Regions from separate parts of the Homo sapiens genome. Here region 2 is linked to region 1. The links are contacts of gene promoters, found by promoter capture Hi-C in blood cells and fetal thymus (Javierre and others, 2016). All regions are on one chromosome and are shown on one strand. The core of a region is centred on a gene start or on the middle of the fragment in contact, and the rest is flanking DNA. Distances in the headings are between cores, read along the strand shown.

What was found. Contacts are between HindIII fragments. The CHiCAGO score rates a contact against its expected background, and 5 or more counts as called.
Region 2: a contact is called between the fragment with the promoter of VAT1 here and a fragment that was not itself captured in region 1, in 1 of 17 cell types (endothelial precursors). The highest score is 5.0, in endothelial precursors.

Annotation. Positions count from the first base shown.
Region 1 is chr17:43,312,452-43,317,345 of GRCh38, forward strand. No RefSeq gene overlaps it. Among named protein-coding and RNA genes, the nearest start is that of LINC00910, 74 kb to the right of the region's middle. RefSeq lists enhancers at 2,954-3,591, 3,592-4,224. The HindIII fragment of the contact is 1,703 bases long and covers 2,681-4,383 here.
Region 2 is chr17:43,020,379-43,025,010 of GRCh38, forward strand. VAT1 (vesicle amine transport 1) reads right to left here and starts at 2,007. Exons shown (of 6, transcript NM_006373.4): 1 at 1,558-2,007. The coding sequence starts at 1,944. The HindIII fragment of the contact is 11,344 bases long and covers 1-4,632 here.

The sequences.
Region 1 (4,894 bases), core at 2,282-4,781:
GAGTCTCGCTCTGTCGCCCAGGCTGGAGTGCAGTGGCGCGATCTTGGCTCACTGCAACCTCCGCCTCCTGGGTTCACGCCATTGTCCTGCCTCAGCCTCCCAAGTAGCTGGGACTACAGGTGCCCACCACCGCGCCCGGCTAATTTTTTTGTATGTTTAGTAGAGACAGGGTTTCACCATGTTAGCCAGGATGGTCTCGATCTCCTGACCCTGTAATCCGCCCACCTTGGCCTCCCAAAGTGCTGGGATTACAGGCGTGAGCCACTGCGCCCGGCCAGCAAGACACTGTTTCTACAAAAAATTAAAAACTTAAAAAACTTAGCTGGGTGTGGTGGCACACACCTGTAGTCCTAGCTACTTAGGAGGTTGAGATGGGAGGATCTCTTGAGCCCAGGAGTTTGAGGTTACCGTGAGCTATGATCACGCCACTGCACTCCGGTTTGGGCAATAGAGTGAGACTGTGTTGGGAAAAAAAATAAAATAAAACCTGGACAGACAGGAGCCTTAGGGATTTCCCCACTCATTGTATTCTCCTTACAGCATGTCCTCTTGTCCAGTCATATTTCTACATGGCCTTCCATACTTTATTGACCCTAAGCATTAAAACGGACAATTTTCTCTGTATCTTTGGGTCTTTGCTCTGAAGACTCTCATGTATACCATTAAAAACAAAATTATATGCCTTTTCTCCTGTTAATCTGCCTCGTGCCAGTGATTTTTCACTGAACCTTCACAGGGCAAAGACGGAAGTTTCCCCTTGGCTCCCCTAAGTACTCAAAAACAATACCGGGGACTGGGAATGATGGCTGATGCCTGTAACCCCAGGACTTTGGGAGGCTGAGGAAGGATGATTGCTTGAGCTCAGGAGTTTGAGATCAGCCTGGGCAACATAGAGAGAACCCATCTCTACTAAAATAAAAAAACAAAAAACAGTACCTGGGAAACCAAATTAGCAAGCAAAAGATGGCCTGATAAACACGAAAATGAGCAGAGAGGCAGTAAAATAGTGAGCCCTGCAGGGTCATGATACTTACCACAAGCCAGGAGATTTACTAATCACTTTCTATTGTAGGAAATATTAATATATTTAATATTCATTCATTCATTCAAAAAATATATACTGAGTGGCTACTATATGCCAGGCATTGTTCAGGGTGCCAGTCATATAAAAGTGAACAAGCGACAAAGATTCCTGCTCTGGAGCTTACATTCTACTATGCTAAAATGCAATAAACGTATCATTGTATAAAATGTGGGGTGACAGGTGCCACCGAGTAGAATAAAGCCAGGTAAAAGAGAACAGAGACCCTGTGTGGATGAGGGTAGAGAACGCCAGGACTACAGACTAGATTTTAAGATTCCTGTTTTATACAGGAAAAAAAATAAGCCTCAGAGGAGTGACTTGCCTAAGCTGTTTTCCCTTGCTTTTTTTTTTTTTTTTTTTTTTTTTTGATACGGCGTCTCGCTCAGTTGCCCAGGCTGGAGTGCAGTGGGTGGCATGGTCTTGGCTCATTGCAATCTCCACCTCCCAGGCTCAAGCAATTCTCCTGCTTCAGCCTCCCGATTAGCTGGGATTACAGGCACCCACCAACCATGCCCGACTTTTTTTTTTTTTTTTTTTTTTTTGAGACGGAGTCTTGCTCTGTCTCCCAGGCTGGAGTGCAATGGTGCCATTGTGGCTGACTACAGCCTCCGCCTCTGGGTTCAAGCGATTCTCCCACCTCAGCCCCCCAAGTAGCTGGGATTACAGGTGCCCACCACCACGCCTGGCTAATTTTTTGTATTTTTGGTAGAGAGGAGGTTTCACCATGTTGGCCAGGCCAGTCTCGAACTCCTGACCTCAGATGATCTGCCCGCCTAGGCCTCCCAAAGTACTGGGATTACAGGTGTGAGCCACCCTGCCTGGCTATTTGTTTTTTTTTTTTTTTTTTTTTTTTTTGAGATAGGGTCTCAGTCGGTCCCCCAGGTTGGAGTGGAGTGCAGTGGCCTGATCACAGCTCATTGCCACTTTGGCCTCCTGGGGCTCAAGCTGTTTTCCCAGGGCTCAAGTGGTCCTCCCAGGGCTCAAGTAGTCCCCCAAGCTCAGTCTCCCCAGTCACTGGGACTACAAGCCTGCTCCACCACGCCCGGTAGATTTTCTGGTTTTTTTTTTTTTTTTTTTTTTGTAGAGATGGGGCTCTCACTTTGTTGTCAAGGCTGGTCTCGAACTCCTGGGCTCAAGTGATCCTCCCATTTCGGCCTCCCAAAGTGTTGGGATTACAGGCATGAGCCACAGTGCCAGGGCCGAGGCTCTTCTCAACTGCTGCAGCAGACAGCTTGGTTCTTGCCTCTCTGCAGACAGAAGACTTGTGTCTCAGGCTCAGTGCTTTGTCTCACAGAGTGCTGGACACACAAGAACAAATTATCTTTCTCTAGGTATCCATTTTTGGCTCTAGGCTCTCTGCTTCACAGGTGGATGGAGTGATGGGGAAGATGCTGTGGCCAGTGCACCTAGGTTCAAATCCTACCTCCCTGTGGTCTTGGGCAAGCTGCTTAACCTCTCTGCCTCAGCTTCTGCATCTGTATGTAACTTTTGCAAGTTTGTAATGAGGAGAGCACTTAACACAGAGCCTAAGCCAAACAGTAAATGCTTCCTATTTTATTGTCTCAGTCATTTCACAGTCATGACCCCTTCTGGGGAAGCTTGTGGGAAACTCTGACTCACATTGCAGACTACCGAGCCACGGTCCCTTCCTCGGCTCCGTTTCTGCTCCCTCCACCCCACGAGGTAGGCATTGGTGTTTCTGCTTTCCAGCTGGGGAAACAGAGTCCGGAGGTTAAGTGGTTTGCCCCCAGTGCCCCGCCGACAGGGCAAGGCGCGCGGACGGGGCTGTGACTCCCAGGGCGGCAGCCCCCTCGGCGCGGTCTCGCGACCCGACTTCTCTCTGTGGCCCCGGGAAGGGGGTGGGGGGCGGCGGGGCCTCGTCGGCTCCGCCTTCGCTTGGGACCCAGCCAGGCCGCGGGACGCTCCAGTCTTTACAGTGATGACCTGATGGCTTTCCTCAAAAGAGCTCGGACCACTCTCCTCCAACTCCCTTCCACAGACCGCTAGTGACGCCCACGCGCATTTCCCCCTGACCACTGTCTTGACCCCCGGATGGTCCAGACCGGGAGCCCCAGCCCAGCTTCGGCCGGCCGCTGCGAGCAGAGCTGGACCGCAGCGGGGACTCAGATCGCCGTAGCCACGCCTACCCACGCGGGAAAGGGCGAGACATGCAAATTAGAAATGGCGCTTCAGCCACGGGGCAAAAACAGAGCTGAGAATTCACTTGAAAACGTAGCCAACTATAAACCATGCCCAAAGGCTTGCTGTTTTCAACAGGCCTATTGAGAAACGAAGTTGTCAATTGCCCCTATCGTTGCTCACCGTGGGTGTAATATGGTGATATGAGGGTGGTAATGGCGAAGGCAAAGATGCTGGATTCGACAAATTTTTCCAGATCTCTGTTTGTGGTGAGGTGTAATTATGTGTGTTTTTCCTAGCTTAGTGTGTGCGTTCTTTCTTTTTGTTTCTGAGAATGCTGTGTTGAGGGGGTTTTTGGAGAAAACGGTGGGGTTGGGAGGTTGTAGTACTTCAAACAAAGGTGAACGATTTTTTAGGTGAGTGAGCGTTGTGTTTTAAAGGTTATACTTTGTTATATTCACGTTCTTATTGCGTTATATCATGCTTCAGAATTGGTCGTCAATATCCTTGTCTAGGTGAGAGTATGTGTGACCAGCCCCCTCCCCGCCTTTTTTTTTTTTTTTTTTTGTCTTATAGAGTGTCACTTTTGTCATCCAGGCTGGAGTGCAGTGGCGGGATGAGAGTTCACTATGATCTCGACTTCCTGGACTCAGATGGTTCTCCCACTTCAGCTTCCGGATCTAATATTTCAATAATTTCAAGAACACTGCATTCATTCCTCTCCACATGAGCAATTGCCAAAAGTAGGCTTTACATTTTTGCTCGTTTTCTTTTGGGTCTGTGGCTAGTCTCCACTTCCTTTTTTTTTTTTTTTTTTTTTTTTTTTTTTTTAAGATAGTCTCACTCTGTCCCCCACAACCCCCAACCCCGGCTGGAGTGCAGTGGCCAGATCTGGGCTTACTGCAACCTCTGCCTCCCAAGTTCAGGTGATTCTTGTGCCTCAGCCTCCTGAGTAGCTGGGATTACAGGCACGTGCCCACCATGACTGGCTAATTTTTTGCATTTTTAGTAGAGACGGGGTTTTGCCATGTTGGCCAGGTTGGTCTCGAACGCCTGGCCTCAAAGTGATCCACCCGTTTGGGCCTCCCAAAGTGCTGGGATTACAGGCCTGAGTTACTGCACCCGGCCTGTCCCCGAAATTCGATTGCAGCCGGCGATAAAGCTTTTTTTTACCCCGCTTCTCGGCAAAGCGTTGTGTTTTTATTTTAGCAGACTCACCTGGCACTAAGGACTGCTCTGGTGGTCTTCGGAGGCTCCTGGGATCGACTGCTTGGACAGAGGTGACATCACCCAATTAGTGAGAGCCAAGACCTAAGGCTGCAGCTGCCTTCCAGGTATCTGCCACTCACTGTAGAACGATCCCACAGTTCTGCATTTCTGCCCTATGCCCGCCAGTCACAAGAAGCTCCGGTCTCTTATCCCATGTCTGATTCCTGAAACCTTGCTAATTTTCCTACCATCCTCCCTATTCCCAGCCTCCTTTCTTCTTCTTCTTCTTCTTCTTCTTTTTTTTTTTTTTTTGAGGCTGAGTTTCACTCTTGTTGCCTAGGCTGGAGTGCAATGGTGCGATCTCGGCTCACTGCAACCTCCACCTCCTGGGTTCAAGCGATTCTCCTGCCTCAGCCTCCAGAGTAGCTGGGATTACAGGCATGTGCCACCACGCCCGGCTAA
Region 2 (4,632 bases), core at 757-3,256, 290 kb before region 1:
AAATATTCCTCTTAGACGCCTGCTCAAGAGTGGGATCATTTAGAAGTCAGTTTGAGGGTGGGGCCAGAGCTGAATTCAGAGGAAAGCCTTAAGGAGAAGCTGTTTGCATACAGGATGAATCCAACAAACCTGGCTCCAGAATTGGGCTGGCAGGTCTGCAAGAGGCTGCATCTGTGGGGCCTCTCATTGAGGGGTCTGATTTAAAAAGGAAACTCCTGGCCAAGCGCAGTGGCTTATGTCTGTAACCCCAGCACTTAGGGAGGCCGAGGTGGGCAGATCACCTGAGGTCGGGAGTTCGAGACCAGACTGACCGACATGGAGAAACCCATCTCTACTAAAATACAAAATTAGCCAGGCATGGTGGCGCATGCCTGTAATCCCAGCTACTCGAGAGGCTGAGGCAGGAGAATCGCTTGAACCCGGGAGGCAGAGGTTGCGGTGAGCCGAGATCGCGCCATTGCACTCCAGCCTGGGCAACAAGAGCGAAACTCCGTCTAAAAAAAAAAAAAAAAAAAAAGAAAAAGAAAAAAAAAAGAAACCTCTAAACAAATGGCGTGCTGAGGCCTCATCCCAGGTCTCTCAAAAAGCTGATCATTTTGAGCTCTCTGGTGTCCAGGGTTGTGGCCAAGATTAATGATAAATGAGAAGGAGAAACAGGCCTGCAGACTTGGCCAACCAGTTCAAGGCGCCGCACCTCTCCGTTCCAGTCCAAACCCCTGGCACTGGGGTTTCTGAAGTGGGGGTCCTCTGCAGGAGGAAGGCAGAGGTGGGTCCCCCCTTCCACTCCCCGCCCCAGGCATTCCCAAGGGCAGCCCCGGGTCGTGGCCCGAAGGCTGAGGGCTGAGTCACAGGAGGAGGAGATACTGCAGTCACGGGAGACACAGAGCCCAAGACAAAGATCGGATGACCCAATCCCGCCTCCCCCACCCCAAAATCAGATCGGCGGTGTAAGGCTGGTGGCGGTGGGGTAGCAAAGGCTCTCTCTCCTCCGTGATGGGCGTGTCTCGTCTCTTTGGCCTTGCTTTGGGAGGGGCCGCCTCACACCCCCACAGACCACGGGGCTGCATGTGACCAGGACTCTGGCACGGCCGCTGTGCCCCCGCCCAACCCCGACGACATAGCCCCTCAAGCTCCCTCGGGGAAAGGGGGCACTAACCGTCACTCATAGTCACAGACCACAATTACCCAGAGAGTGTTTGGTGGGTAGGGGTACAGGTGTGGTTTTAATGGGGGGGGGGGGGGGGGGTGGGGACGGTAGTGTGGTTGTGCGCATGCGCATGGGCACCTTATTGTTTTCCCCCCCACCAGCACAGCTTCTGGGCGGCGGCCACAACTAAAAATGGTTGGGGAAGGGGCGATAATTTCGTCTCCCCTCCCCACATAAATGCCGCTCTCCAGGAGCCCCCAAACACAAGTTCCTTGGCTACGCTTTCCACGCTCGTGCACCCAGGTCCGCGCCAGTTTCTCCCGCCCTGCCACACCCCCGGCGCTCGCCCACTCGTGCCCCACTGCCCAGTGGCCTGCGCAGCCCTGCCCTGCCCTACGCAACCCGCTCACCTTGCGGTCGCTGACTCCCTCGCCCACTGCGATCACAACACCCGCGCCCTCCATGCCCGGAGTGACAGGCAGAGGCGGGAGACGGTCGTACAGCCCCTGCCTAGCCATGAGGTCTGCGAAGTTGAGCCCGCAGGCCCGCAGACGCAGCGTCAGCTGGCCGGGCCCAGGGGCCGGGGGCGCTGCCGGCCGGCTCTGCAGCTTCACCTTGTCGTAGCCTCCAAAGCCGGTGAGCACTAGGCAGCGCAGCAGTGGCGGCGAGGCGGCGGCGGCGGCGGCCCCTTCGGAGGCCGCGGGATGCTGGGGGTCGCTCGCTGCCTCGGTTTTCGGAGGCGGCGAAGAGGCGTCTTCCCCGGTCGCTGCCTCGGCTACCTCTCTCTCGTCGGACATGGCTGGGACTCCCGACGAGAGCGCACAGCTGGATGGAGAGTGCACAGCTGGGGAAGGCGGAACGCGTCGGGAAGAGCCGCGGCTGCGGGATCCAGCGGGAGGGGCGGGGCGCCGGGCGAGGCGGGGCCTCGCGCTCAGCCTTAAAGGGCCAGGGCCATAGTGGCGCAAGCTGGGAGAGCACGAAAAGGGGCACCAGGAACGTCTGTGCTCTTGGGATCAAGCCGACTGTGATTTATTTATTCATAGTAAACCTTATTCAAATTAAAAACTATTTTAAGGGATAGGCCTGGCGCGGTGGCTCACGCCTGTAATCCCAGCACTTTGGGAGGCCGAGGCTGGTGGATCATTTGAGGTCAGGAGTTCAAGACCAGCCTGGCCAACATGGTGAAACCCCCGTCTTTACTAAAAATAAAAAAGTTAGCCGGGCGGTAGTGGCGCGCGCCTGTAATCTCAGCTACTTGGGAGGCTGAGGCAGAGGAATCGCTTGAGCCTGGGAGGCGGAGGTGAGCCGAGATCGCGCCACTACACTCCAGTCTGGGCAACAGAGTGAGACCCTGTTAAAAAAAAAAAAAAAAAGGGCCGGGCGGCGTGGCTCACGCCTGTAATCCCAACACTTTGGGAGGCCGAGGCGGGTGGGTGGATCACCTGAGGTCAGGAATTCGAGACCAGCCTGACCAGTATGGTGAAACCCCAGCTCTACTAAAACTACAAAAATTAGCCAGGCATGGTGGCAGGTGCCTATAGTCCCAGCTACTAGGGAGGCGGAGGCTGGAGAATTGCTTGAACCCAGGAGGCGGAGGTTGCAGTTAGCCAAGATCATGCCGCTGCACTCCAGCCTGGGCTACAGAGGGAGACTCCATCTCGAAAAAAAAAAAGGCCGGGCGCGGTGTCTCACGCCTGTAATCCCAGCACTTTGGGAGGCCGAGGCGGGCAGATTACGAGGTCAGGAGATTCACCTGGCTAACACGGTGAAACCCCGTCTCTACTAAAAAATACAAAAAATTAGCCAGGCGTGGTGGCAGGCGCCTGTAGTCCCAGCTACCTGGGAGGCTGAGGCAGGAGAATGGCATGAACCCAGGAGGCAGAGCTTGCAGTGAGTCGAGATCGCGCCACTGCACTCCAGCCTGGGCTACAGAGCGAGACTCCGTCTCAAAAAAAAAAAAAAAAAGTTAAGGAACAGTCCCAAAACTTGAACTTACATCAGATTTGGAGTTAACTCATATCAGATTTGGAGTCAGCCACCTGTGGACTGGAGTCCAACTACATTGTGTCTCAGGCTCTGACATCTAACCCAGGCAGGGATGAGACTTAATTCACTGTGGTCTTGCAGTGGCAAAGTAGAAGCATGGAGACCAAGCCTTTAAAACTTTCTGACTTTGGTGTTAACGTTCTGTTCCTCATTTTCCCTTCTGTAACATAGTGATGATGCTGCGTGCTCTAGTTATATTTATATTTTTATTTTTTTGATACAGGGTCTCACTCTGTCACCCAGGCTGAGCGAGGTGGGGCGATCACAGCTCCCTACAGCCTCAAACTCCCGGCTTCAAGCAATCCTCCCACCTCAGCCTCCTGAATAGCTGGGACCACAGGCATGTGTCACCACGCCCGGCTAACTTTATGTTTTACTGCTCTTTGCAGAGCAGGGCTACCCCATAGGCAGCGTGCCTAGAGTGGCCAAACCTAGCTAAGTTTTGATTTTTTTTTCTAGAGAGAGGGTCTCGCTAATGTTGCCCAGGATGGCCTCAAACTCCTGCACGCAAGCAAGCCTTGGCCTCCCAAAGTGCTGAGTTTACAGGCGTGAGCCACCGCGCCCAGCTTCTAGTTATCTTTACAGAATTATTTGCAGCATATATTATTGACTCGAATTGCCTCGATATAAAAAAGCACTTTTTTTTTTTCGAAACTCTATTGCACAAGCTGGAGTGCAGTGAGGCAATCTCGGCTCACTGCAAGCTCCGCCTCCCGGGTTCACGCCATTCTCCTGCCTCAGCCTCCTGAGTAGCTGGGATTACAGGCGCCCACCGTGCGGGTTTCACCGTGTTAGCCAGGATGATAGTCTCGATCTCCTGACCTCTTGATCCGCCCGCCTCGGCCTCCCAAAGTGCTGGTATTACAGGCGTGAGCCACCGCGCCCGGCCTATTGTCAGACTCTTAATCAAGCCTGACTTTTGGGTTTAGCTCTGGCTCCAGCAGAGCAACTCTGGCGGTTGGTTCTTTCTCTTCCTTATCTCCTTGTCCCCAAGCATCCACCAGAGGACGCAGCTCCCCCAAAACTTTCCACCCAGTGCTTGGCTGGAGGAACTCAGTCCACGCTTCTCTGCTAGTCTAGGCCGGCGGTTAAGTCAATGTAACCGGAGACCCGGCTGCCCGTTGCCATGGGGACGGAAAGCTATGATGTCACCACCGTCCGGGTGGGTGTGCTGGGGTTCACCCTCCCATTTCCCCAAGACCCCCTGCCAGGACATAGGCGGACGCGGGAGAGAAAACCAAAGAGGCTCCCTCCTTCCCCTTAGCATCTCTCTCCCGCCGTGTTCAGGAAGTGGATGGCTGCCCCAGCTCTTGTCCGCACTGGTACACCTGCGTGCACGCGTGGGTACACAGCAGGCCCGAGCTTCGCGCTTGTGCCGCTCATATTCTACCCCTAAGAACTTCGCTTGAACTCTGACCTGCCCTTATATCCGAGAAAGT